6 separate regions of the Homo sapiens genome follow, and all the other regions are linked to region 5. The links are contacts of gene promoters, found by promoter capture Hi-C in blood cells and fetal thymus (Javierre and others, 2016). All regions are on one chromosome and are shown on one strand. Each heading gives the region's core, a stretch centred on a gene start or on the middle of the fragment in contact. The rest is flanking DNA. Distances are from core to core; before and after follow the strand shown. Region 1 overlaps UBR5-DT (UBR5 divergent transcript). Region 2 overlaps POLR2K (RNA polymerase II, I and III subunit K). Region 3 holds the start of UBR5 (ubiquitin protein ligase E3 component n-recognin 5). Region 4 overlaps AZIN1 (antizyme inhibitor 1). Region 5 holds the start of ZNF706 (zinc finger protein 706). Region 6 has its middle 2.5 kb from the start of GASAL1.

Region 1 (4,657 bases), core at 1,771-4,270, 1.0 Mb before region 5:
TGCTAATGCCCTAAACCAATGCAAGTTGAGTACAGTAACAAGAGGGTCCCTGCCCTCCCACAGCTATGACTTTACCCTAAAAGCTTCACAGATATTCCAACTCTCACCACTCTTGGTCCATCCATGTGCTATCTGAAACTAGTTTATGTGCTCATTGTCTGACTTCCCCTAGTGACCCTACACAATAATAGCAGAGGCTATCAGAAACTCTATCCTTGTTCACTTCTCTTAAGCCCAGTGTGTACCACAATGCCTGGTCAAAAATCATTTATGAATCAGTAAATTATATAGTTCCCATGTCAGAAACGGAATCATTCAATTCCCTCTTTACCCCTAACATTCATATTAACCATCAAGCCCTACAGTTACTATATATTGAACTCTTGAGTTAATCTACTTCTCTCCACATCCACTATCATTACCTAACTTTGTCACCACCTTCTACCTAGATTATGTCAATAGCTTACTAACCAGTTTCTGTTTATTGTTTTGCTCCCTTTAATATGTAGAGGCAGAACAAGTTCTAAAATGCATATTAACCATTTTACTCACTCACCTGTTTAAAATACACTGACTTTCCACGGATGGCTATGTAAGATGAAGTTCAAACTCAACAAGGCCCTTCATGATTGGATCTTGCTTTACAGCCTTATATTTACTTACTATCTTGTTATACTGAAAGACTTGCAGTCCCCTGGTGGGTTATGACCTCTATCGCCTTGGAGCCTGTATAAATACTTGCTCCCTCTGACCTTACTGCCCACTCTTTATGGCCCCTCATCTTGGAATGGTTAGTTCCTATTCATAATTCAGAATCCGGTTTACCCACCTCTTTGAGGTGCTCTCCTTGACCTGCCCTCCACCCTCCACCTTGACAAAGCTGTTTTACTTTCTTTGTACTCCGTCTGAACAATGTATCTGCTTGATTTTCCCTTCTACTCTGTAAGTTCCTTTAGTGTAGGAACTCTGTCTCAATTACCTTTTTCTCTCCAGTGCCTGGTAGAATGTTAAATTTATTGAATGGATTCAAATGACCAACTTCAATCCAATTTAGGAACATACTATTGTAATCTGTTGTTTTTATCTCACCTGGAACTCTGCACCTTTGAAATGTTGTCTTATTATCCAACTCTATGACCCAAAACTCCTGTCCTTCCAATGCTCTCACACTTACGAGTAAAAGAAAGTTGTCTCACTTCTTTTCTTCTGCATTTAGCCTAGACATAGCAACTTATTCTGAAACAGTTAAGAGGGAAAATGTTCTTTGTACTGAACTCGAAATTTTTTAGAAAAAATCTATATTGCTTGTTGATTCTTTTGCAAAAACTGCTTTACTTACTATTAATGTGACGGGTTGCTAAGTATGGCTTTCAGGTTGTCACAGCTGGATCAGATCAATGGCTGAGCCAATCAGTTCTGAACCACATTACTAGAAACCCCCAGTTGGATCTCATGAGAATCATGATCTTGACATGTCCAAAACAACTCACTATTTTCCTACTAAGACTTCATGGGCAAAAGGCACTGCTAACTGCCTAGTCTCTGGATTAGAAACTTGTAGTCATTGCTGGGCGCAGTGGCTCACGCCTGTAATCCCACCACTTTGGGAGGCTGAGGCAGGCAGATCACCTGAGGCTGAGAATTCGAGACCAGCATGACCAACATGGAGAAACTAGTCTCTACTAAAAATACAAAAATTAGCCAGGCATGGTGGCGCATGCCTGTAATCCCAGCTACTTGAGAGGCTGAGGCAGGACAATCGCTTGAACTCAGGAGGCGGAGGTTGCAGTGAGCCGAGATCGTGCCATTATACTCCAGCCTGGGCAACAAGAACGAAACTCTATCTCAAAAAAAACAAACAAACAAAAAAAAAAAACTTGTAGTCATCCTAGAATCCTCCCTCTACCCTACACTCCATATCCAACCACTGATCAAGTCATCTTGAGTACATTTACTTAACTCACATGCACGGATTCTTCTTGCATTCCCCACCACCACTGCCTTATTTCAAGCTTGCTTTATCCTGTACTGGGCCTATTCCAACTAGCTCTAAACCAATCTAATTCCAAAATTTTCACCTTCCTTCACACTGGAGGCCTTCCTGAATTATAAATGAATGGCTCATTAAATATAGACCTGTTTAGTGATTTTCAAACTAGGGTTCAGGATCTGCCAATTTTCCACAAGCATCTTATTTTGATTCTTAATATATATATGCAGTATCTTGAATTACCTGGTTGACCATTTATGATGGCACTGATGTCAAATAATACATAAAAACTTAAAGAATGGAATTAAATATGTAAATGACACATTTGTTCCTTATGAAAGGCAACTGATAAAAAGAGTTGTAGAAAAAGTTATCCCATGGCTACGATGCAAAAAAACATGCTTCATTAATGGTCACTATAAAATTCACACTGATGCAATATAGTTTCAGCAAAGCAACATCATCATCCATTGCTTTTGGTTGTAAACTGGAATTTTACCATTTCTATAGTCTTGTTTGTATTTAATTTATAGATCTACTTTTAGTTGTGTAAAGCTCCAAGAATAAGGAGTTTATTACTGGTCTTAGGTTTGTACATACTTAAGTAACAATACATATGTAGTTTAAGTCAATATCAAAGTGGCTGTGAAAATTTTTTTATTTAAAAGGGGTTGAGGCCAGGCACGGTGGCTCACACCTGTAATCCCAGCACTTTGGGAGGCCAGGGCAGGCGGATCACTTGAGGTCAAGAATTTGAGACCAGCATGGCCAACATGGTGAAACTCCATCTCTACAAAAATACAAAAATTAGCTGGACATGGTGGTGTGTGCCTGTAGGCTCAGCTACTCAGGAGGCTGAGGCAGGAGAACCCCTTGTACCTGGGATGCAGAGACAGCAGTGAGCCGAGATCATGTCACTGCACTCCAGCCTGGGCGACAGAGTCAAGACTCTGTCTCAAAAAAAAAAAAAAAAAAGGGCAGGGGTGTTGAGACATCAAGTTTGAGAAATGAGGATTTACCCAGTAAATGACATACAATAAGACAGCAATAGCTTGAAATTACATATTTTCTATACAAAAGGCTAGCTTGTCTTCCTAGGCGATCACCACACAAATCTCTAAGTGGAATGGATGCTGGACCAGTTACTATGGCTGCATAACAAATTATCCCAAAATTGGTGGCTTAAAACAACCATTTGTTAGGCTCGTGGATTCTGTGGGTTAGGAATTTGCACAGAACCCAAGATGGTGTTTTTCCTGCTCCATAATTTCTGGGGTTTTCAACTGGAAGGCATGACAGCTAGGAGTTGGATTCCTCTGAAGGCTCATTCATTCACACATCTGGAGGTTGATGCTAGCTGTTGGCTGGTGCTTCAGTTGCTTTCCATGTGGACTTCCCATGTAGTCTCTCTGTGTGAGCTAGTTTTTGGCTTCCTTTAGCATGGTACCTAAGCTCCCAAGGAAAGTGCCCAAAAGAGAGACAACACCAAAGCTATCTGTAGTGTCCTTAATGAATGAGGCTTAAAAGTCATGCATCACTTAACAACAGGAATATGTTCTGAGAAATGTGTCATTAGATTATTTCATTGTTGTGCAAACATCATAGAGTGTATTTACACAAACCTAGATGGTAATGCCTACTATACACCTAGGCTGTATGTGGTATTGCTCCTAAGCTACAAACTTGTACAGCATGTTACTGTACTGAATATTGTAGGCAACTGAAACACAATTGTATTTGTGTATCTAAACATAGAAAAGGTACAGTAAAAATATGATATAAAAGGTTTTTTTAAAAAGGCACACTTGTATAGGGCAGTTACCATGAATGGAGATTGCAGGACTGGAAGTTGCTTTAAGTGAGTCAGTCAGTGAGTGAATGTGAAGGTTTAGAGTATTACTACACACTACTGTAGATGCCATAAATACTGCATACTTAGGCTACAAGAAACTTATGAAAAATATTTTTCTTTCTTCAATAAATTAGCCTTACCTTACTGTAACTGTATTTCAAAAACGTTTTAAATTTTTAAAGCTTTTTGACTCTTTTGTAATAACACTTAGCTTAAAACAGTGCATAGCTGCACAAAATTTTCTTTCTTTATATTCTTATTCTATAAACTCTTTCCTATTTTTTAAAATAATTTACTTTTTGAACTTTTTTTGTTAAAAACTAAGACACACACATGCATTAGTCTGTGCCTACACAGGGTCAGGATCATCAATATTACTGTTTTCCACCTCCACATCTTGTCCCACTGGAAGGTCTCCAGGGGCAATAAATACATGAAGCTGTCATTTCCTATGATAGCCATACCTTCTTCTGGAATACCTCCTGAAGGACCTGCCTGAAGCTATTTTACAGTTACTGATTTTTTTATATATATAATTAGAAGGAGTATACACTAAAATAATGATAACTATAGTAAATACATAAATCAGTAATATAGATTATCACTATCAAGTATTATGTAGTGTACATAATTATATAAGCTATACTTTACACACTGGCAGATTTGTTTACAGTAGCATCAACACAAACACATGAGTAATGTGTTGTGCTATGACTATAACGTCACTATGATAGGAACTTTTCAGCTCCATTATAATCTTATAGGACCACCACCATATATGGGGTCTATCATTGACCAAAATGTTACATGGCACT
Region 2 (4,866 bases), core at 2,363-4,862, 1.1 Mb after region 5:
TAGAGATGGGTTTCACCGTGTTTGCCAGGCTGGTCTTGAACTCCTGACCTCAAGTGATCTGCCCGCCTCGGCCTCCCAAAGTGCTGGGATTACAGGCATGAGACACCACACCTGGCCCATAAATAAAATATTTTTTTAAAACGCTGCTACTGTTCTGTTATCCCGGACTGCTGTATTCCCTGCTAAGTAAATTGATTACTCCTATTTAACTATAAAAAATGTAATTAAAATTTCAGAGTGCATTGCAACCAAGATTTACTTACCTCTTCCTCTTTAAAAAAAAAGAGTAAATGAAAGACAAAATTCCCTCTTCCTTTTCATGAATTCCACGTTTTCTGAGTGCTGGTTATGAGTCAGGCACCATACTCAGCACAGGGATGAAAAGGTGAATAAGACAAAATACTAATACAATTCAGATGAATAAAACAATAGAGGTTACTTGTCAGGAAATTTATTTCAGTTTTATAATTTCAAACTAGTTAAAATAGATGATGAAGATCAAAGTTAATTTACAGTGTCTGGCAGTTCTGTAAATGTATTTCTCTTTCCCTTTTGCACTTAAATTACAGACCTGCGGTCTGCTACCAAGCACTGTTAGTGGCAAAAATTCTAATGCTTGGCAGGACACAGTGGCTCATGCCTGTAATCCCAGCACTTTGGGAGGCCAAGGCAGGCAGACTGCTTGAGCCCAGGAGTTCAGACCAGCCTGTGCAATATAGTGAGAGGCTGGCTCTATAAAATAAAAAAAAAATTTTTTTAAATCACTTTAGTCTTCATAGAGATAAAAGAAGATATCATCCAAGAAACAAGGAGATAAAGTGAGGCCTGGTAAGGTCACTTAGCCAGGTAACAAGGGGTGGTGCACGTATTTGGACCCAAAGCCTTACACCAAAGCCCATGTTGTTTACTGAGCACTTAATTACTAACCAATCCATCAGTAAGTCCCACAGCCAGATACTTCTCACCACCTCCACAACTACAGCCCTGGCCCAGCCACCATTACCACTAACTATTACAGACGGTCTGTTGTTTCTTTGTTGCTACCTGTCCTACATAGTCTATTCTCACACAACAGCCTGGTAATTCTTCACATCAGACCAGGTCACTCTCCTGCTTACTGTCCCAATGGCTTTGCATCACAACACCCTAAGTGAGCTGGCCTCTGCCCACCTCTGCAACCTCATCTCCTCCCACTATCCCTCCTGTCATAAAGTTTGAGTCACATGGGCTTGATTCTGAAGTGGGAACAAGATTAAGCTCACTTTCCACCCCATGACTTTTACATGGAGTGTTTTCTGTTTCGGTAATGTTCTTTCTCATCCTTCAGTCCTCTCTGTTCAAATAACCACGCCACCTAAACTTATTACACAAAGCTTATTCTAAGGAAGGGTGAGGACATGTGTGTATTATGTATTATGAGGCAACTTGTCGCCCAGGCTGGAGTGCAGTGGTGCAATCTTAGCTCACTGCAACCTCCACTTCCTGGGTTCAAGCAATTTTCATGCCTCAGCCTCCCGACTAGCTGGGATTACAGGCATGTACCACCACACCCAGGTAATTTCTGTATTTTTAGTAGAGACAGGGTTTCACCATGTTGGCCAAATTGGTCTTGAACTCCTGAGCTCAAGCGATCCTCCCGCCTTGGCCTCCCAAAGTGCCGGGATTACAGGTGTGAACCGCCACTCCTGGCTTCATTTCTGATTTCATTTTTGAATTTTTCATAACTCCAATCTCTTAAGATAGCTATCTTAAAGCACTGTTATCTCTATAATCCCTGTGATTACTTATAATCATAATTCCTCCACTTTGATAAAGAAGCTGAAGTTAAAAGAAATAAAGTGAATTGGCCAGTCATTGAGGGGCAGGGCTGAATTTGAACAAATCTCCATTCAGTGCTTTTCCCATGGACAAGGATGTGCTTTTCAGTGTGTGCAGTCAGTAAGCAGTTTACAGGGTACCAAGTGATGTGCTAACATCAAGCTCAAGCTTACTAATTTTCATATTGACAGAGCACTAGTCAAAAGAATGTTTTAAAAGCAATTTTATATCAGTTTTTTCCTTGAAACTGTCTAGGTAGGTAAGAGGTAAAATTACATCTAGTTTATACATGAAGGGAGCACAAAAAGTGGCTGACTGAAAGCAGTCTGAGTTCCAGCTGTAATACATTTTGCATGAAGTTATTCTGCCCAGTTAACCAGATAACAATATTCAATTAAACTACTGATATGCAAAGGACTTAGTCTAAAATGAGAAGAGTTAAGAGAAGTATATTATCCCATAAGTTGGGGATTTATCTGTTTAGGGAACTGTCATAAAGAAATACCATGTATTGAGACTCCCATATCTAAAAAGTTCAAGAAGGAATATACTAAAATTATAAAATTATGAAAGCTCAATTTCATTGCCAGCCTGGGCAATGTAGTGAGACTTCATCTCTACTAAAAATCAAAATAATCAGCCAGCATGGTGGTGTGTGCTTGCAGTCCCAGCTATTCAGGAAGCTGAGGTGAGAAGATTGTGTAAGCCTGGGAGATGGAGGCTGTAGTGAGCTATGATCATGCCACTGCACTCCAGTCTGGACAACAGAGGGAGACCCGGTCTTAAAAAAACAAAACAAAACAAAAATCTGAGCATGGAAGTATTTCATATAGCATGTAATAAATTTATAGAATTTAATATATGAAGATGGTGGTAAAAATGCAGGGTTTTTTTTAACAAAGTATTATGGACAATATTTTGAATGTCAAAGACAGACATAACTATTAATAAAGTTGGAATACATCTAATCTTTAAAATGCACATCAGGCTGGCCAACATGACATTCCACAACCATGGAATCCTTGAACAGAATAGCGTATAAGTGTGACCATTAATTCTACATCCCAAAGATCAAGGCTGAAGACTTAAACATTTATCCAATAATTCAGTGTAAACCAACGCTCCCCTCCCCAGCCCTTGACTCAGGGTGTTGCACTGTCCATCAGGCTGGAGTGCAGCAGCATGATTATGGCTCACTGCAGCCTCAAACTCTTGGGTTCAAGTGATCCTCCCATCTCAGCCTCCCGAGTCACTGCCTGTTCTTTTTATATCCTAAAAGCAGAACTGTTGACCTTAATGAGTGATTACACCTTGGAAACTGCACTTGGCTTAACAGCCTGCTTCATTCACTTTGCTTGGGGTTGATTTTGCCTTACAGAAAACAATTAAAGTTTCCCTTCATTATTCTGAGATTTAAAAGAGAACCAAGCATTATATGAAAATACAGAAAGGCCTATACCTAGTAATAAATGAAAAACTGAACTCAAGATGACATATGCATACTGACACCAAGCACAATGGTATACTTCATATCAAATGACACAGTGACACAGGACAGTGGTTTGCAATAAATTTATTTAATCAGAACTTCAGAGGGTTCTAGAAACCTGCATTTTTAACAAGGACTGCAGATGATTCTAGGTTTTGATTAAAAGTGTGGTTTGGGGAAGCAACTTTACCCTTTATTGTGTGTTAAATTACATATACAATAAAACAAAAAGTCACGTAATGGAACAAAAAATTGCTTTATACAAAATATTAGTAGATACCCAAATATAATATGGTCTTAAAAATAAAATCATATGTATATAGTTGTATTCCTAAGTACAGTAGTGCCCCCCTCATCCAAAGTTTCCCTTTCTGTGGTTTTGGTTACCTGTAGTCAACCACATTCTAAAATAGGTGAGTACTGTACAAGAAGATATTTTGAAAGCAAGAGAGACCAACCACATTCACATAACTTTTATTATAGTATGTTATCATTGTTCTATTACATTATTATTAATCTCTTGCTATGCTTAATTTATACATTATACTTTATCATAGGTATATATATATGGAAAAAACAGTGTATAAAGGTTTGGTACTGTTTGAGGTTTCAGGAGTTCACTGGGGGCCTTGGAATGTATCTCCCGAAGATAAGGGGGAACTACTGTAAGCAAAATCGAAAGCTATACAACAATCAGAAATGGGAAGAGAGCAAATCCAAGTATAAGTGAAGACATTCCTCTGAATTCCCAGCATTCATCGAGCATCAAAAACGACCACTGTATTAATTTGAGTTAAGGACAAAAACGGTACTTAAACATTATTAAGACTGAAGGTTTCAAAGTCACTTTCTCTTTGCAATAAGCTGGTTTGTTATTTAACTTAAAATGCAAAAAAGAATGGAATTCACTATTTACTATGACAACTGGTTTTTAAATAAACTAAAAACACTTTCAATTTTTATTACCACCTTTTCCATAAAATGTATCAAAAAACACTAAAGCAGGCCAGGCGCAGTGGCTCACGCCTGTAATCCCAGTACTTTGGGAGGCTGAGGTGGGCGGATCACGAGGTCAGGAGATCGAGACCATCCTGGCTAACATGGTGAAACCCCATCTTTACTAAAAAATAAAAAAAATTAGCCGGGCATGGTGGCGGGTGCCTGTAGTCCCAGCTACTCAGGAGGCTGAGGCAGGAGAATGCCATGAACCCGGAAGGCAGAGCTTGCAATGTGAGCCGAGATTGCGTCACTGCACACCAGCCTGGGTGACAGAGCGAGACTCCGTCTCAAAAAAAAACAAAAAACAAACAAAAAAAAACACTAAAGTAATGTTAAAGCGGATAATCCGTCGATTTACAATGTGTGTTAGTTGTATCATAACAATTTACTCTGTATTTTATTTTTCCACATGGGGGTCACACTATGTTGCCCAGGCTGGTCTTGAACTCCTGCAGCCTCCCAAAGTGCTGGGATTATAGGTGTGAGCAACCATGCTGGGCCTACTCTCAGTATTTGAACAATTTGTATGCCCAACTTTTTCCATTAGGTAGTATACACAA
Region 3 (4,634 bases), core at 1,677-4,176, 1.2 Mb before region 5:
TCAAGACCAGCCTGAGCAACATGGCAAAACCCCGCCTTTACAAAAAATACAAAAATTAGCCAGGCGTGGTAGCCTGTGCCTGTAGACCCAGCTACTCGGGAGGCCAGTGCAGGAGAATTGCTTGAGCCTGCTAGGTGGAGGTTGCAGTGAGCCGAGGCCATGTCACTGCACTCCAGCCTGGGTGATGGGAGTGAAATCCTGCCTCAAAAAAACAAAAACAAAAACAAAAACAAAAAAAAAAACTGGAACATAGCACCAGACAAGTAAATGTTTCCATTTGCTGAGCCTACTATGTATATGAACTGTCCTAGGTGTCTGACATACATTATCTTATTTAGATCTCACTGCAACTCTGTGTAGATAGATCTATTAGTATGGAATATTTAACAAATGAGGAAAAAAGATGCAATGATAGGTTAAATCTAACTAATTTTTTTTTAAGACAGATTCTCATTCTGTCGCCCAGGCTGGAGTGCAGTGGCACAATCTTGGCTCACTGCAACCTCCACCTCCCGGGTTCGAGCAAGCAATTCTCCTGCCTCAGCCTCTGGAGTAGCTGGGACTACAGCCACACCAACACTCCTGGCTAATTTTTGTATTTTTAGTAGAGACAGGGTTTCACCATGTTGGCCAGGCTGGTCTCAAACTCCTGACCTCAGGTGATCCACCCACCTCGGCCTCCCAAAGTGCTGGGATTATGGGCGTGAGCCAGTGCACCCGGCCAAATCTAACTAATCTAAATCCAAGTAAGGCCACGTAGTTAAGTAGCAGAAACAACTGAAATTTAGATCTGGGCTGGGCGCAGTGGCTCACGCCTGTAATCCCAACACTTTGGGAGGCCGAGGTGGGTGGATCACCTGAGGTCAGGAGTTCGAGACCAACCTGGCCAACATGGTGAAACCTTGTCTCTACTAAAAATACAAAAATTACCCAGGCATGGTGGCAGCGCCTGTAATCCCAGCTACTCGGGAGGCTGAGGCAGGAGAATCACTTGAACCCAGGAGGCGGAGGTGGCAGTGAGCCAAGATCGTGCCATTGCACTCCAGCCTGGGCGACAGAGCAAAGACTCCGTCTCAAAAAAAAAAAATTTTTTTTAGATCTGTTTGGCTTGAAATCTAGCAGTGTCTACTGGTCTACCTTCCTTCCTCAGGGCTCCCAGGGACATCTAATAGTGACCTTGAAATCACTTTTTAGTCTAAACTAATCTGGGCCAATGGTTGAGCTGGTAACCTACAAAAGTGTTCCATTATCTGCCTTGAGGGTACCAGGTCTGTCCTGATTTGTAAGTATTTTTTCATAAATTTTGCTCAGAAGAACTTCCTAAGCAAAACTGTGTGTGTGTGTGTGTAATTCATTAACAGACCACCTCTGTAGAAGGAATGTCATGTTCTCAGTTTTTGCCTTCGAAGAGGTACTTTATTTTTTAAAGGAGGTCATAGAAACCTTTGAGAAGAAAGTCATGAATTGGTTCCTTAGGGAAAAAAAAACAGACTTATTTGATTAAAAAAAATTTTTTTTTGAGATGGAGTCTCGTTCTGTTGCCCGGGCTGGAGTGCAGTGGCATGATCTCAGCTCACTGCAACTTGCCAGGTTCAAGCAAGTCTTCTGCCTCAGCTTCCTGAGTAGTGGGGTTTACAGGCGCGCACAGCCATGCCTGGCTAATTTTTGCATTTTTAGTAGAGATGGGGTTTCACCAAGTTGGCTAGGCTGGTCTCGAACTCCCAACCTCAGGTGATCCGACATCCTCGGCCTTCCAAAGTGCTGGGATTACAGGCGTGAGCCACTGTGCGCCGTGGCCAAAACTCTGAAAGTGTCTTATAGTAGAAACTCGGTATAAAAGATCCTATCTCGGCCAGGCGTGGTGGCTCAGGCCTGTAATCCCAGCACTTTGGGAGGCCGAGGCGGGTGGATCACCTGAGGTCAGGAGTTCGAGACCAGCCTGGCCAACATGGTGAAACCACATCTCTACTAAAAAAGAAATACAAAATTAGCCGGACGTGGTGACACATGCCTGTAATCCCAGCTACTCCATAGACTGAGACAGGAAAATCGCTTGAACCCGGGAGGCGGAGGTTGAGGTGAGCCGAGACCGCGCCATTGCACTCCAGCCTGGGCAACAAGAGCGAAACTCCGTCTCGGGGAAAAAAAAAAAAAAAATAATAATTTTCCGTTCTGATTCCACTGATCATAAATTGAACTCCTTTGTAGAACAGGTTTATCATCTTTCATTTAAAAGTAATAAAAAATCACGAATCATTTATATCAGGAAATTAGTGGAAATTTCCACATTTTGTCTTTGGGCATGTGATGGTGGTGAGGAAACTGGGGAGACCGAGGTAATAGAAGTTGCTGCAAAGCCAACTCCAGGATCCTACTATCTCCTTCTGGAAAGGCCCTTACATAATTTCCTTACTTTTCCAATAAAAGGCTGTATATGTCTTGCCCCTTAACTGATTTTACCAACTTCACCATAAATACAACTGCGGATGAAGGATGAGAAGCAACAAGAAACCCCTAAGGATCCGCCAAATAATTAGGGCTGCCCCAGGGGAATCCGAGCGAAAGAACACAAGAGCCCCTCTTCCTCCTCGCCTCCTCTGGGACACACACTTACCCTCCCTCCCGGCAGGTTAGCCCGCAGCCTCCTCCTTCCCTAACACGTGCTCTCCGGAACACTCACTCTGGAGACATCCCACCCCCGGCGGGGCTGGGCTCGGGAGCCGAACGGACCAATCGGCACGCGCCTTACAGCGTCGTGGCCCGACAACGTTGAGCAGCCCAATCGAGGGGGCCTTGCCGCCCGTTTCCCGGAGCCCCGCCTCTCGCCGCCGCGCCCCCGCCCGCCGGTCTCCTCCCTCCTCCTCCTCCCGTTTGCCCCTCCCCCGCCGCTCCGGAGCGGAGCCTGCGAGACGGAGAAACTGGGGCAGAAGTGAAGATGGCGGCGGCAGCTTCTCGCTAGTGACGCGCGGTGCGGGCTCATCTCCTTCCCCTCCTTCCTCACCTCCCCTAGTCCGGACCCCGTCCGCCGCCGGGACCAGACCGTCCCCGTAGCCCGCAGCCAGCAGCCGCCCCTCTCCTCCCCCGGCCGCCCCTCTCCCAACGCCCGTCTGCCGCTGGCCGGCGGCGCGCCCCTGGTCCCGGCCGCCTGCCTCGCACTCCGCGCTGTCGCCGGGGGAGCGGGTGGCGTGTGGATTCGCCCTCCTGCCCGCCCCTCCGGGCCGCGGACACACGCCCGGCAGGGAGGCGGCGGCGGCCCCTGCGTATTTGCTTCCCTCCATTTGGGGACTGGGAGGCGGCGGCGGCTGTGGGTTTTGGGGAGGGGTAGAGGGCTGGGGGGCGGGCGAGAGCGGGAGGGGGCCGCCCTCGAGTGGAGGACGAGAAGGAAAGCACCATGACGTCCATCCATTTCGTGGTTCACCCGCTGCCGGGCACCGAGGACCAGCTCAATGACAGGTAATAGGGCTGGCGGGTCGGCGGGCGCGGGGGGAGGGGCGCCCTTCCCTCCCTCCCCTCCCCCACGGGCCGTGCCGGGCGGGTGCGGGTGTTTACGCGCCGGCCGGCCAGCTGGGGTGGGGTGCGGGGGTCCTTACTGCCTCCTGCTAGGCTCCTTCCGGGGCAAACTTCTCATCCCGGGGGCAGGGGGCCGCGGGGGGAGCGCGGTGTAGACGGGACTCGCGGTGTAGACTGGAGAGCGCTCTGTAAACCCCCTTCCCCCTCCCGCAAGGAGCGGCGTTGAACTCGGCGGAGATGGGGGGGTGGTTTCTGGCTCCCGGGGGGCAGGCGGTAATTACTGCCCGGCCAAGGCCCGAGGAATCCATATTAGTCAAAGTTGAATTGAGACAGACAATGCGGATGGGGGATGGTGGAGGTAAAAAGAGAGGGAAGAGGAGAAGCGGGGCCAGGGGCCCCGGGGTGGGCTGGGCTGGGCTTGTCCCGGGCCCCCGGCAGCTGTGTCCGGTGGGGTGGTCTGGACCTGGGGATCCCGGGGTCGGGTTGGGGAGAGAAGCCGATTCCCGGCAGATTGCTGGGAGCGGGCGGGGGGTGGGGGGAAGGTGATAGTTGGGGGAGGGAGTGAGGGAGGAAGCGCCATGATTATTGTTATTATTATTAAATTTGAGCCCCTGCAGTGAGGTTTGCCTGCCCCGGGAGGGGATGGATTCAAGCGGGGGTGGGGAAGTGCATTGGATTCCCTTTACTCTCCTCCTGAAATGGTGCTGGCAGCTCCTGCTACTAGCCCCTGTGGTGCGAGCTTTTTTGTTTCCTTTTCTATTCTAATGATAGTGTTTTCCTGAGTTGTAATTTGACAGCTGAAAACCGTGCGTAGAGTGTCAAAGGAAAACTCTTACGTTTGCAGTTCGCAATGCTGCTTTTCTTAACACGCTGTAAATTTCTGGGTTGGGTTTGCTATGGGCGGAGGATGAATTATGATTTTATTTTATGTTTTGTCTTTTATAGGCTGTTTTGGTTTGGATTTCTCCTTTTCTTCCGCCACCGTTCCTTGCCAGTTTAGGATATTGAATTGCAGTGCCGCATGCTCTCAGGGAACTGAGATAAGGCAGGAAAAGTTCCTTCACTGTTGGAAAACAGACTCAGGAGGTTGAGGGAGGCCTCCATTAAAGCATGTCTTAGAATCT
Region 4 (4,682 bases), core at 462-2,961, 1.6 Mb before region 5:
TTTAATAAATGTAAAATTGCATCATAGTATTTGTTGACCTAATGTAACCCTTGTATGATTGCAATAAAATTTTGTGTAGATTTTACTGTTTTTTCAGGCTAAAACTTTGGGAAAGGGGCTAGCTAGCAAAGGTAGTTTTGAAATAGATGTGTATATGGACTGTTTTGAAGGGTTTTTTTCTTTATAGCCCAGTTAAGTTTTGTTTGGCTCGGTGCATTTTTCATTTATTTAATTAGTAATTTAAGTAAAGTGTTTGGTAAATCATTGTGAAGTTCAGATTCATTATGGAGAGTTGATGTGCAGTAAGCATGATGTTTAACAATTTTAACACCAAAAATGTTAATCCTGCATAAATCAACTGTAATAATAAATAGGTGTTTCTGTATAGATAGAATGCATAGAGTACCTTAGTAAATCTTTGAATCACAATCTTTTGGCTGAAATGGAAGATTCTGTTAAATACTTTGAATAAACTTGGGGGGAGGGAAATAAAATTGCAGAAAACTGCAGAGCACTAAAACTTAAAGAAGGGCTACATCTTTATCCAGAAACCTGTTGCTCTTTTGCACGGAATGTTTAAATTCAGAGTTGGGATGGGGGTTGGGGTGAAGCACACTTATTATCTTCAGTTGCAGTGATTTCAAATTTAGGATTTTTTGTTGTTGGTTTGAACTGTCCCCTTAGTTTCTTGTTATTTCCAATTTGTTCTGCTTAGTCATTACTTTTAATTCTTTTCTTACTAAAATTTTATGGTGGTTGGGGGAAGGGAGTTAGCATCACTAACCTGACAGTTGTTGCCAGGAATTTGCTTTGTTTACTGCTAGTATATTAGAAATCCTAGATCTCAGAATCACAATAGTAATAAACAACAGGGGTCATTTTTTCCTAACTTACTCTGTGTTCAGGTGTGGAATTTCTGTCTCCCAAGAGGAAATGTGACTTCACTTTGGTGCCAATGGACAGAAAATTCTACCTGTGCTACATAGGAGAAGTTTGGAATGCACTTAATAGCTGGTTTTTACACCTTGATTTCGAGGTGGAAAGAAATTGATCATGAATCTCTAATAAATTTAAATCTCTTAAACCAGTAGGTGCTTAATATTTTTTGATTTGATTAATGCCCATTTAAATCTCATGGGTTCTATTAAAAATATATATATATAGGGCCCCAATCCATTGCCATCAAATTGCCCTTGGACTTTTCCAAGGTATATTATGGGGTTTTATGCAAAATTCCAAGCTACCATGTAACTTTTTTTAACCATTTAACAAGGAGGGGGAACTGTTTCCTACCTTCTTTACATGTTGTGCATTGTTGTGGTCCAGAAATGCCAAACCTTTTTAAAGATGGTGCAACTTTGAGTCCTTGGCTTGACTATACAGGCCTTGAACTTCATGGCATATCAACTTTGCCATATCTGCAGGAGAGCTGTTCTATAAGAAATAGCTCAGAGTTGCAAATATCACATGTGAATGATACGGTAACTTTTAAGAAATGTCTGTATTGTATTTGAAGACTGTTTGCCATAAATCTGAAATTTGAACCTATGTATTTCAATTTGGTATGCTAAAAAGTTCTGAATTAATGTAAAGTTTTTTGTTATAATATTGTAATCTCAGTTCAAAAGTTAACTGCAAATATAAAACCCAATGATTTCTATATAGTAAATTGAACTGTAAAGGTAACTTGTGTGTGATTCTGAATACATAGATAAATGTTTTTATTCCTCATGTTTTACTTTGGCTTCTATCTGAAATAGAGGTAAAATTTTACATATCAGCTTTATGTGTATTAACAATCTTGCTTTATTAGAAAGAAAATTGATTCTGCTAAAAAATGCTGGAAGTTATATATAGAACAGTGAAATTTTGGTAAAGTCCAGTATATATGTGAGCACTGTTTCCAGGACAGCCTTTTCTAGACACTTCAGTTCACTAGCCTCCTAACAATTTAAAACCCGGACTAAATGAATAGATTGACAAATTAAGCTAGATTTATTCCAAGTAAATATGGGCATTAATACCATTAAATGGAAATACTGGGTTAGAGAAGCCACACATTGCTTAATTCCTTTTTTCTTCTTTTTAGAGTATATATTTTAGTTTCCTAACCTGTCTTGGCCTTAAGAAGTCTTCTGAACTCTGCTGAAATGAAAAGCATCATCTCTTTGTTCTTTGAACACTTTAGTTAACTGGGTGACTTAATATTTTGGGGAGTAACTTTAAATTCAAAGATTTACTTAATTATTCAGGCAATGCACTAGTATAGGGTGGTGGTTAAAGGTGTAGACCTTGCCTCCAGTCTGCTTGACTCAAATCCTGCCTCTGCCATTTACTGTCTGTATGAACATAGGCTAGTCACCTAACCCTTTTGTGCTTCGGTTTTCCCAGATGGAAAATCGTGGTAAGGCCAGGCACAGTGGTTTATGCTCGTAAATGCCAGCACTTTGGAAGGTTGAGGTGAGAGGATTGCTTGAGCTCAGGAGTTCAAGACTAGCCTGGGCAATGTAGGGAGACCTGTGTCTCTCCAAAAAAATTCAAAATTAGCTGGTAGTCCCAGCTACTCAAAAGGCCAAGGTGGGAGGATTGCTTGGGCCCAAGAGGTGGAGGCTGCAGTGAGCCGCGATCACACCACTGCACTCCAGCCTGGGCAACAAAGTAAGACCCTATCTCTAATAAGAAAAGAAAGAAAATGATGGTAGTAAAAGTAGCAGCTTCATAAGGTTATAAGGATGTAACAGTTACAAGGTGCTTAGAACTGGCTGGCACACAGGGCTCAATAAACGACCCTTATTACCTATTAGATTGATTATACTGATTTGGACAAGTTGCTCTGGGCCTTGGTTTCTTGTCTGTAGGATGAAGACACTAGAACTTAACCTTACCAGGCCTTGAAAGTGCCTGGCACATGGATGCAAATGGCAGATACTGCCAGTGGTTGATAGCTTGGTATTAAGATCTCTTTAGCATGTACTTGACCATTCTCTTTTGTCCTTGTAAGTTGGACTTTTGGTTGGGCATCAGAGAAGGTTTTGTATTGCTGCCTTTTAGTTGATTTAATTTTAATGTAACCTTATAGTATTAAAGCACAGGCCAGGCACAGTGGCTCACGCCTGTAATCCCAACAATTCAGGAGGCTGAGGCAGGCAGATCACCTGAAGTCAGGAGTTTGAGACCAGCCTGGCCAACATGGTGAAATGCCATCTCTACTAAAAATACAAAAATTAGCCAGGCATGGTGGCGCACACCTGTGCCAGCTACTCGAGGCTGAGGCAGGAGAATTGCTTGAACCTGAGAGGCAGAAGTTGCAGTGAGTGGAGATTGCACCACCGCACTCCAGCCTGGGTGACAGAGCAAGACTCCATCTCAAAAAAAGAAAAGAAACACAGTAATAGTAGAAACTTAAATTGGCAGGAATCAAAATGTAAAACAAAAATTAGTCTTCTACATTTGAGTTGTGAGTAAATCCTATGAATCGCATCCATCCTGAGAGGAAAAAGGTGTGATGCAAGTAATTACGGCAGCAGGCTTTCATAATGAGGATAAACCTGGCCTAGGAACAAGCAACGAACTAGTTCTGGTCTTTACTGGCATTTGCATTAAGTTAAAGCTAACCTGAAAAGTCTCAGTTCCTACTCAGACATCCGGAGAAACTTTTCTCTTTGCATACAGATGGCCTCTACTACACATATCTTCTAAATCATAGTGCATGTCTTCACCCAGAAAGGAGTGGAACACAAACCACCTAGACTCAAAAGGCAATGTGACTTTAGTGTTACACAGTTGAAGATTTTGTTTTATTTATCGGAAACAGACTGTAAAAAGTTTTTTTTTTTAATGGCAATTTGTAGAAAGCTTAATCTACACAGCATGCTTCATTTTTTGTGGTCTTGGGGTACTAAATGGAGAGAAAAAGAACATCTTTCATACGCCTGAACTCCTTTACCTATGTATGTAATTGTCATCAGCTTTAAAAGCAATTCCATTGTTAAGTGGTCTTTCAAACCCTGATTCTACCATGATACTGCTTATGTCTGTCAAAACCCTTTGCAGTTGATTTGTTGATGGCCTGAGAAGATTAGCACTGGATCAGTTATGGGCAATTAAAGAGTTAAGTATCTGCTATTGAGTGACAGATGAAGTGATTGCACATTGGCAGTAGAGCAAAGGGGTTGTGTAGATGTGCTAAAGATACTGCAATATCTTATTTAGATTATTTTTAACCCCAGAGTCCAGCTAACCTTTATTTGTAAATAATGGTGCCCAACTTCATCTGGTGCGTACCTGTGCCTACAACTTTGTCCCCATTCAGTTTTTAGCAGCAATATGCAGAGGAGGGGACACTTGGCTGAAGTTTAAGAATTTTAGTTCTGTGAGTTGATTGGTTTTCTCCCATCTATTTTCTATTTTATGTTTCTCAAATTGCTCTGCTTTCACCAGGTATGGTGGGGTGGAGGATTCTCAGCTCTATTCCAAGCCTTCTGTCTTCCACTTAGGCAATTTTAAACTTCTGAGCCAAGGTTGCAACAATATGTTTTATCGCTAAGAATGTTCTTTTTTCCCTTCATCACTTTGGTCCCCTTTCCTCCAGCTCTGGACAATCTAAATTGTCTTGTTTTTGTTTTGAGACAGGGTCTCACTCTTGGCTCACTGTAACCTCTGCCTCTCGGGTTCAAGTGATT
Region 5 (4,246 bases), core at 538-3,037:
GGTTACAGTGACTATTAGTGACTAAGCTAGAGCTTCATGCTATGTCAATTTAAAAGCTGCTTTCTTCAGACATACTCGGTTCATTTGATCAATATCCATTTATTCAACGTCTACTATGTTTAACATACTGCGTATTCCCTGATGAAAATAATCTTACAATCTAGGACTAGAGAGTAATTTAAAACTGCAAGAAGGAAGTCAGAGCATAAAAAGTGAAGGTGAGAGAAGCTGAAATGAGGATGAAGAGGGAGAACTGAACACCCGGATCACTGCATGCCATGTTTCATTTCGTATTTTTCTCCACTCAAATGCAATAGGCAGCTAACTCCTTCCTGGCTAGTTTAAACAATTCTGTGGTATCTATAGCCCAGTCCAAGTCATTTGGGATATACTAATATTCAGCCAACATTTCCTGGGCACTGCCACGCAAACTTGGGAAACGGCACTACAGGCAAGGTGAGAACAGCCAATGCAAACACTTTTTTTTTTTCTCCTTTGTCACTAGTAGTTCTAATTAGAAACGAATGTGGCGGGGGTCGGGGGTAAGTATGCACAATAAAGCTGATGTCTAAAGTACTGTTTCCAGATATTCAGCAATTTTAATCATGGTTATAATCGCCATTGCTCTTGTCAGATATTGAAAGTTTGCTGCCACTGCCTGTAAATGGAGAGAGAGCGCGCGCAAAGAACTTTAACCATTCCCCGAAGGATTAGCAACTCAGTACCGTATATTGTTAGCAGTCAAACTAAACCCCTCCGGGAAGCCTGGCCAGCAATTTTTTTTTCTTTTTTTGTTTTTTTTTTTTTTTAGGCAGGGTCTCACTCAGTCGCCCAGGATGGAGTGCAATGGCGCGATCTCGGCTTACCGCAACCTTCACCTCCCGGCCTCAAGCGATTCTCCCACCTCAGCCTCCCGAGTAGCTGGGACTACAGGCGCGGGCCACCATGCTCCACTATTTATTTTATTTTATTTTATTTTTGTGGAGACGTGGGTCTCGCTATGTACTCAGGCTGGTCTGGAACTCCTGGGCTCAAGTGATCCTCCTGCCTTGGGCTCCCAAAGCGCTGAGATTACAGGCGTGAGCCACCGCGCCCGGCCTAGCCAGCAATTTTTAATACGACTTAGGCTTGAATCTTGAACTCACTAAAAGCCCCCAGCTTGGGAAAACACCTGGGGTTTCCATGGGAGTGAGGTAAAGGGCGGCTGTGAAAGAACAAAGGCTGTGCGTCCGCGTTCAGAGCCGCTGGGTCCGCCGGGCTCGCTGGGGGCCGGGGCCGCGGTGTCCTGGGTGGCGGGGCTCCGGGAATGTGACTCAGCCACCGCGGCCCCGCGATCCGCTCCCGGGCCAGCGCCTCAGTCGGTGCCGAGGAGGGCGGCGCCGAGACGGGCGCGTCAGCCTGGGAGGAGCGGGAAAAGGGTCGCAGCGCCTGAGGCCCGGCCGCCGCCCGAGTGGATGAGCGAGCGAGCGACTTGTGAAACACGCCGCGGCCCGGTCACCAACCAGGACCGGGATCACGTGGCTCCCAGGGCTGGGTGAAGAAGCCGCCCGGACCGAGCGCGCCGGAGAGGAGGGGCGCCTGGGGACAGAAGGCGACGTCCCCTGAAGTTTGTGTCAGCCAGGGCCCGCCCCCTCGCGCTTATGTAATAGGGGCGCGCTGCCATTGGCCCGCGCGACCAGCCAGGGCGCAGGCGTGCGAGCGGGGTGGGGGCCAGAAGGAGGCAGCCGCAGAAAGGCACATGGGCGGGGCTGCGAGGAGCAGGCGGGGCGGGGGCGCCGAGGAGAGCGGCGCGGCGTGCGCGGGCACGAGGCGTAGTGGTCTCCCCTAAGGCTGAGGCGGCGGCGGGCGCGCGGCGGCGGCGGGCGTGCGAGGCTGTTGTGCTCCCGGCTCTCGTGTTTCCCCTCCTGAGCGGGTGGAGGAGGCCCAAGCGGTGCTGGGCGCGCTCCCCCTTCCTTTCCCTCCGGCGTCCTCTCCCGGCCCTCTCGCGCTGCACTGTCTCTCCGACGCAAGACTGTCCCGGCCCGGGTGAGCGGCAGCGGGGGCGGTGCTGACGCCGCGGGACGCCCGGGAAACGGGGCGGGGGCCGGCCAGCGGGGGGCGGTGGGGACCGTGGGACTCGCCGCGGGTCGCGAGGGGTCGCGGGGGGCGGCAGGGCCCGGCCCGGGGCGGGCCGCGGGAAGGGGATGAGTTCGGGCGCCTGCCAGGCCCTGCAGGTGGCCGGGTCGCAGGCCAGCCGCGGAAGCGGAGCGGTAACCTTACCCCCGGCGACAGCCGCCGGTCAGCTGCCAGAGTGTGGCGCTCCCGGTGGACGCAGGGGCCGGGTTTCGGGCAGTCTCGGCCTCCAGGAGGCGCGTCTTGGTCCAGGGTCCGTGAGGACTGGCTAGATGGGGGCTGCGTGGCCTTTGGTGGCAGGGAGGAGGAGGGGGTCTCCGAGGCGGGAGAGGCGGGTTTGGGAAGGAAGGTGCGCCAGGCTGAAGCTGGGGTCGGAGAAGTGTTGGGTGGAGACCTCACTGTGGGTGCGTTCCTCCTCTCCTCTCCCCAAAACGATGGTGTTAAAAGCTAGGGTCAGGATGTGGAGCGCTGCCTGGGCCTCTTCCTTTCCGATGGTTATGGAGAATGAGCCTACTTCCTGGACCCAAAATCCTTTTCTTCTGTTACTCATTTATGTTGGTTTTAAAAGGAGCTTTGGGGCAGAGCTTACTTGTTGCCTCCTACGAGAGCGCCTCATTTTAGAACTCGTTTCTTCCACTACTTCCCTCTTTGCAGCCCCCTCGGAAAACCACACTGAGAGTTGCATTAAAAACCAGCATGTAGGTATTTGTAAGTGACTTTTTCCCTCCAGTTTGTCGCATTTAATCAAGGAGCGGTTGTAGCTGCCTACGATTTTGTAGAAAATTGTGTTGGCTTGAGAGCAAGTCCTAAGTTGAGCTGTCCAAAAGCAGGTGGTTGGTTCGTTTGAATTTCTGCTTTCAGAAAGGAAATCGATGGGGCGTGTTGTCAGAAGTTAGGGGCCTACCTCATGCATTTAGCTTATTTTATTCCATTTCCTTTACCTGGTGTTAAGTTTTCTGTCTTCAGAATAAGAACAAGTGACTACTGTCTTTATTAAGTCTCTTCGGTCTTTTTGGTTGCTGTTTGGTGACAATGGAAAATGGGTTGAATCTATTGTGTAATGTTATATTTTAGGGAAAGTCCTAAGTGCAAAAGTTAAAAATAATTTTGTGTGTCTAATGACATTGCTTTGTACGAGTCACAACATGGAAATATCAAAATAGCTAGTAACTTCTAGAAAGCAAAGGAACTTCTGAAATTAGTGGCTTACCATTTTTGAAGATTTTTTTTAACATAAAACAAGATTTCCCACAAAATCAGTGTATTAAGATACATAAAATACATTGTGTCGAAGAGTTAAGATGTGTGAGAAGACTGGCTATTTTGTTACAAGGTCCTGATAGTAAGACATTGAGACAAAAAACCTTGCAAAACATTGGTATACATAAAGGCTGATCACGTGACTACTGTCGTCCAAATAATACATAAGTATCCAAACCTGTTTCCATGGGAATAGGTTTGTAAGCTTGCGGTAACATCGGACTTAAATACACTTTTAAAAAAAATGTGCCATTTGGCTTAGAATTAATAATTTTTTTTAAAGCAAAAATGGAAGCTTAGTCTTCAAGGACTGATAACAGCTGGTAATATTTACCATTGTTTGGTGGGAATGGGGTTCTCATATTAGGCTAGCACGCTAAACATTTTCAATTACGAAAATGTATTAGGCTCGTGTGCTACCCTAATATAAAAACCCCATATTTCCTCAGTTGAAATAGTCAGCTGACTATCCTGAAAAGCATTGACCCTCTTTTATATTTTATCTGACTTTCAGTTCATTTTTTTAATGCTAGTGGGAACTTCTCCAATCAGTGTATTTTTTTAGTTTCCTTTTTTGGGGAACAGGAGGAGCTCAGTAATTTTTATGAAATGCTTTGACCTCATATCCATTAACTAATTATGGTCCTAGTCAGAAGAAGCTAGCACCCTTCCCTGGTGAAGTTGATACAAATCCATTGTATGTTCCTGTCCTGCAATGATTTACATTCAGTTACAGTACTAGTCAAAACTATATATATATGAATTCTACTTAGGATCCAATTTTGATATATTTAAAAAGCAATTGAGACTCATGATAGACTTTATGAGCAGGTTTAACTTGTGTGGTCGAATAAAAGCCTTTAATTTAAATGGA
Region 6 (4,733 bases), core at 243-2,742, 1.6 Mb before region 5:
CCGGGCATCTGCTCCGGTGACGCACCCTGAGTCACGGGCGCCCGGGCCGCCGCCGAGGCCGAGCGCGCAGCCGGGAGCGCCGAGCGCAGCCCCTACGCCTGCCGCGGGCGCCCACCCAGCCCGGCCCGGCCCCGCACCCTTCCTCCCTCGCTCCCAGCGCCGCCCGCCCTGCACTCCCTGGCCCAGCTCCAGGCTGACATCAGACGCTGGCCGCCCGGCCACCCTCTGAGTCAACAGTTTCCGAAGCAGAGCCCGCTGCCAGGGGCGGGGAGAGAGCGCGGCCTCCGGGGGAGGCGGGGGCGGGCACCGGTCTGGCAGCCGCGGGAGGGCGGAGGTGGGTGGGGACGCCGGAGCCTTTTACAAGAAGTCACGGGGGATGGGGGAGAAGAGAGGGCGAAAACCACCCTCTGCAGAGCTGCCGGGGCGGAGAGGAAACCCGCCGCCCCACACAGCCACGTGCTGAAGCCCTCACTGAGTGGGTGGCTGGGAAGGGAACCCGAGGGCGGGAGGAGGGGGAGGCACTTGCTGGGAAAGGCCCTGGGCCAAGTTTCTGAGGGAGGAAAAGAACCACCTTTGGACACCCTGGGTCCCAGGGGCCCAGCAGATATTTGTGTCTGGATAACAGGGCCCCACCCAGTTCCCTTTGATGGGAGCAGCTCTGGCCGAGCCCTACTCTTGGGGACTGGTGCTGCCTGCTTGGGGTCCGACTTGAAGAACTGCACTGACCTAACCTGACCCCCTCCCTTGACCACAGACCCTGTCACCATCGTGGGATGATGGGGTTGGAAGGATGTATGTCTGAGGGTAAAGGAATTCAAGAGCCCCAGTCCATTGAGAGTCACCTTCCTCGCTGTAACAAGGCTGGGCACTATGGTCTGCCCCTGAGTTGGTGCTGGGTAACCACTCTGAGAGGCTGCATCTGTGGTTCTAGAATGCTCAAAGTGAGCAAGAGACCCTTAAAAAAAGCATCTACCTGCAGGGGGACTAAGTGGCTTCTAGAAGCTTCTTTAACCCCGCAGATTTCCCTGATCACGTCAGGCAGGAAGGAAGGGTGACGTGGAGCCAGGAGGACAGAGTAAGGCAGTAAGCATCCACAGGTGCTTGGATTTCCTTCCCTCCACCCCATCGCACCCCGCCCACCCATGCCATGCCCCCCAGGATAGCAAGACAGGGCTGTCATTGGTGGGCCTCCGGCTGGAATTCACGCTCAGCTTCTTTCCGGGATTTGAACTTGTTGTTCTTTCCAAAGCCATGGTTCAATAAATGATGCCAACCTGGGAAGGGGAGGTGTCTTTCTCATCTTGCAGGCAGAAGCGGCATAACAGCTGGGTGAACAGAACCGGTCTGGATCTGTCCAGAGCTATTTGTCAGCACAGCTTTGCAGAAACTATGTGAGCGTCTCCTTGCTCCATATGACCCCCATTCAAACTCATGCTGAGAAAGAGCTCCCAGTCCACCTCTGCTGGGGCAGTCTTTTCCCAAGTGTGACTTTTCCAAGGGTGGGTGGTTCATTTCTGCCAATCTAACCCAGCTCAAAATAGCATTGAATCAGACTTCTGGGAAGCCCTGTGCTCCAGGCGCCTGTAGAAAAGAGTTAAAAATGACATCTCTTGGGAAACCAGGGGGTCTAATTTTGCTGAGGTGGGACAAGATGCAGAGCCCTGTGACATCAGAGGGAAGAAATAGTGGCCAGGGATAGGTCTGGAAAGTGTGAGTGGTGGAAGGTCCTGTGCTTTATGTGGTTGCCCTTTGGGAAGTCCGTGGCCTGGCCCAGTGGGGGGCAGGTATCCTGGGAGCTAAGGCCAGGTGTAGGAGGGGGCTGTGGCTTAAGCCACAAACTCCACAACCTCCAACTTCCACATTTTCCTTCAGGCTGAGAACCCGAACTGTCTCAGTAGGGGTTGACTCCTCCACCGTTTCTAATTCTGATTACTTACGCTTTTGGCTTGGGCCCAGCTGGATTGCCACCTTTATGAAGCTTTTCTCATGAGTTAACTTGACCCTTGGCACTTCCACTACAGCCTTTACCATGCTTTGCCTGCTTTGAGAGGCTTTGCTTTATTCGGCTTTCCTCTCCACCCAGCAGCCCACTGGGAGGCAAGCACTCCATCCTTGCCACTCGTTAGTGGAACTCCCAGGGAAACAAATGAGCTGTCGGCTCTTCTGTCTTCTGCCCCCACGTTTGGTCTCATAGGCTTCCTTTGTGTCTGATGGGGCTTCCTGTGTGCTGTCTCTGCTTCCAAGACAGCCTCATCTTGGGTTTTGACCCTATCTGCGTTTTTTTTTTTTTTTAAGGAAAACAATTTTTCTTAGTTCAAATAGAAATTAGCTTAGATTTTAGATTTGATCATTTTCTAGATTTTTTTAAATTTATGGGTACATAGTAGGTGTGTATGTTTATGGGGTACATGAGCTATTTTGGTATAAACATACAATACATAATAATCATATCAGGGTAAGTGGAGTATTCATCACCTCAAGCATTTAATCTGTTCTGTGTTACAAATATTCCAATCATACTCTTTTAGTAGTTTTTGTTTGTTTGCTTGTTTTGTTTTGTTTGAGACAGAGTCTTACTCTGTCACCTAGGCTGGAGTGCAGTGGCATGATCTTGTCTCACTGCAGCCTCTGCCTTCTGGGTTCAGGTGATTCTCCTGCCTCAGCCTCTGGACTAGCTGGGGCTACAGGTGCGCACCATCACGCCCAGCTATTTTTTTTGTATTTTTAGTAGACACAGGTTTCACAATGTGGGTGTTCTCTTGACCTCGTGATCTGCCCGCCTTGGCCTCTCATTTTTTGTATTTTTAGTAGAGACGGGGTTTCCACATGTTGGCCAGGCTGATCTCAAACTCCTAGCCTCAAGTGATCTGCCTGCCTGCCTCAGCCTCCCAAAGTGCTGGGATTACAGGTGTGAGCCACCACATCCGGCCTTCTTTTAGTTATTTTTACATGTATGATAAATTATTATTGACTGTAGTCATCCTGTTGTGCTACCAAGTACTCGATTTTATTCCTTCCGTGTAGCTACGTTTTTATATCCATTAACCATCCTCACTCCCCCTCATCCCTGGCCCACCTACCATTCTGGTAACCATCCTTCTACTACTCTCTGTCTCCATGAGTTCAATTGTTTTAATCTTTTTTTTTTTTTTTTTTTTTGAGACAGAGTCTTGCTCTGTTGCCCAGGCTGGAGTGCAGTGACGCAATCTTGGCTCACTGCAACCTCTGCCCCTGGGTTCAAGTGATTCTCCTGCCTCAGCCTCCTGAGTAGCTGGGATTACAGGCATGTGCCACCACACCCAGGTAATTTTTGTATTATTAGTAGAGTTGGGGTTTCACCATCTTGGCCAGGCTGGTCTTGAACTCCTGACCTCGTGATCCACCCACCTTGGCCTCCCAAAGTGCTGGGATTACAGATGTGAGCCACCGTGCCTGGCCCATATGTACGACATTTTCTTTATCCATACATCTATTGGTGGACACTTAGGTTGCTTCCAAATCTTGGCTGTTGTGAATTTTAAACATAAGAGTACAGATATCTCTTTGACATACCTAGTAGTAGAATTGCTGGATCATATAATAGTTCTATTTTTAGTTTTTTGAGGAACTTCCATACTGTTCTCCATAGCAGCTATATTAGTTCACATTCTTACCAAAAGTGTATGAGGGTTCCCTTTTTTCCACATCCTCGCCAGCATTAATTATTGCCCATCTTTTGAAAAAAACCATTTTAACTGGATTGAGATATGACAACTCATTGTAGTTTTGATTTGCATTTCTCTGATGATCAATGATGTTAAGCACCTTTTTATATGTCTGTTTGCCATTTGTATGTCCTCTCTTCAGAAACTTCTATTCAGATATTTTCCCCATTTTAAAATTTGGATTATTAGATTTTTTTCCTGTTGAGTTGTTTGAGCTACTTATATATTTTGATTATTAATTTCTTGTCAGATGAGTAGTTTGCAAATATTTTCTTCCACTTTGTGGGTTGTCTCTTCACTTTGTTGATTATTTTGTTTGCTGTGCAGAAGGTTTTTTAACTTGATGTGATCTCTTTTATCCATTTTCCCTTTGTTTGCCTGTGCTTTTGGGGTATTTGCTCAGGAAATCTTTGCCCAGACCAATGTCCTGGAGAGTTGCCCCAGTGTTTTCCTTTAGTAGTTTCATAGTTTGAGGTCTTAGATTTAAGTATTTAATCCATTTTGATTTGATTTTTATATATGGTGAGGTAGGGGTCAGTTTCATTCTTCTGCATGTGGATATTGGTTTCCCAGCACCGCTTATTGAAGAGACTGTCCTTTCCCCCAATGTATGTTCTTGGCACTTTTATAAAAAATGAGTTCACCGTAGGTGTATGGATTTGTTTCTGGATTCTCTATTCTGTTCCATTGGTCTATGTGTTTATTTTTATGCCAGTTCTGTGCCTATTTTGGTTACTATAGCTCTGTAGTATAATTTGAAGTCAAGTAATGTGATTCCTCCAGTTTTATTCTTTTTGCTTGTGATGGCTTTAGCTCTTCTGGGTCTTTTGTGGTTCCATATAAATTTTAGGATTATTTTTTCTGTTTCTGTGAAGAATGTCACTGATTTTTTTCTTGTGGTTTTGTTTTGTTTTGAGACAGAGGTCTTGCTCTGTCACTCAAGCTGGAGTGCAGCAGCATGATCTTGGCTCAATGCAACCTCCATCTCCCAGGCTCAAGTGATCCTCCCATCTCAGCCTCCCAAATACC

Evidence for each region. The method cuts DNA at HindIII sites, captures the fragments that hold promoters and counts their contacts. A CHiCAGO score of 5 or more calls a contact.
Region 1: a fragment that was not itself captured here is called in contact with the fragment with the promoter of ZNF706 in region 5 in 1 of 17 cell types (erythroblasts); the score reaches 5.3 in erythroblasts.
Region 2: a contact is called between a fragment that was not itself captured here and the fragment with the promoter of ZNF706 in region 5, in 1 of 17 cell types (neutrophils). The highest score is 5.5, in neutrophils.
Region 3: the fragment with the promoter of UBR5 here is called in contact with the fragment with the promoter of ZNF706 in region 5 in 1 of 17 cell types (activated CD4 T cells); the score reaches 5.7 in activated CD4 T cells.
Region 4: a fragment that was not itself captured here is called in contact with the fragment with the promoter of ZNF706 in region 5 in 1 of 17 cell types (total B cells); the score reaches 6.8 in total B cells.
Region 6: a contact is called between a fragment that was not itself captured here and the fragment with the promoter of ZNF706 in region 5, in 2 of 17 cell types (fetal thymus and total B cells). The highest score is 6.1, in fetal thymus.

Annotation. Positions count from the first base shown.
Region 1 is chr8:102,244,313-102,248,969 of GRCh38, reverse strand. All of the region lies in intron 2 of UBR5-DT (UBR5 divergent transcript), which reads right to left. Among named protein-coding and RNA genes, the nearest start is that of UBR5-DT, 7.2 kb to the right of the region's middle. RefSeq lists an enhancer at 24-213. The HindIII fragment of the contact is 2,012 bases long and covers 2,015-4,026 here.
Region 2 is chr8:100,152,513-100,157,378 of GRCh38, reverse strand. POLR2K (RNA polymerase II, I and III subunit K) reads right to left here. Exons shown (of 4, transcript NM_005034.4): 4 at 3,376-4,085. The coding sequence ends at 4,063. Among named protein-coding and RNA genes, the nearest start is that of SPAG1, 3.6 kb to the left of the region's middle. The HindIII fragment of the contact is 3,247 bases long and covers 1,989-4,866 here.
Region 3 is chr8:102,410,992-102,415,625 of GRCh38, reverse strand. It overlaps UBR5 (ubiquitin protein ligase E3 component n-recognin 5), which reads left to right and starts at 2,926. Exons shown (of 59, transcript NM_015902.6): 1 at 2,926-3,453. The coding sequence starts at 3,392. LOC105375683 (a long non-coding RNA gene) reads right to left here and starts at 3,287. Exons shown (of 5, transcript NR_168428.1): 1 at 2,615-3,287. RefSeq lists enhancers at 1,512-1,561, 1,662-1,771, 2,333-2,602, 2,977-3,755, 3,756-4,534 and 1 more and silencers at 2,753-2,952, 2,983-3,062, 3,123-3,562. The HindIII fragment of the contact is 11,584 bases long and covers 1-4,634 here.
Region 4 is chr8:102,823,406-102,828,087 of GRCh38, reverse strand. It overlaps AZIN1 (antizyme inhibitor 1), which reads left to right. Exons shown (of 12, transcript NM_148174.4): 12 at 1-1,780. Among named protein-coding and RNA genes, the nearest start is that of GASAL1, 19 kb to the right of the region's middle. The HindIII fragment of the contact is 4,292 bases long and covers 1-3,857 here.
Region 5 is chr8:101,203,214-101,207,459 of GRCh38, reverse strand. ZNF706 (zinc finger protein 706) reads left to right here and starts at 1,787. Exons shown (of 4, transcript NM_016096.5): 1 at 1,787-2,025. RefSeq lists silencers at 1,223-1,442, 1,653-2,252. The HindIII fragment of the contact is 4,829 bases long and covers 1-3,579 here.
Region 6 is chr8:102,802,117-102,806,849 of GRCh38, reverse strand. No RefSeq gene overlaps it. Among named protein-coding and RNA genes, the nearest start is that of GASAL1, 2.5 kb to the left of the region's middle. RefSeq lists a silencer at 1-393. The HindIII fragment of the contact is 976 bases long and covers 1,005-1,980 here.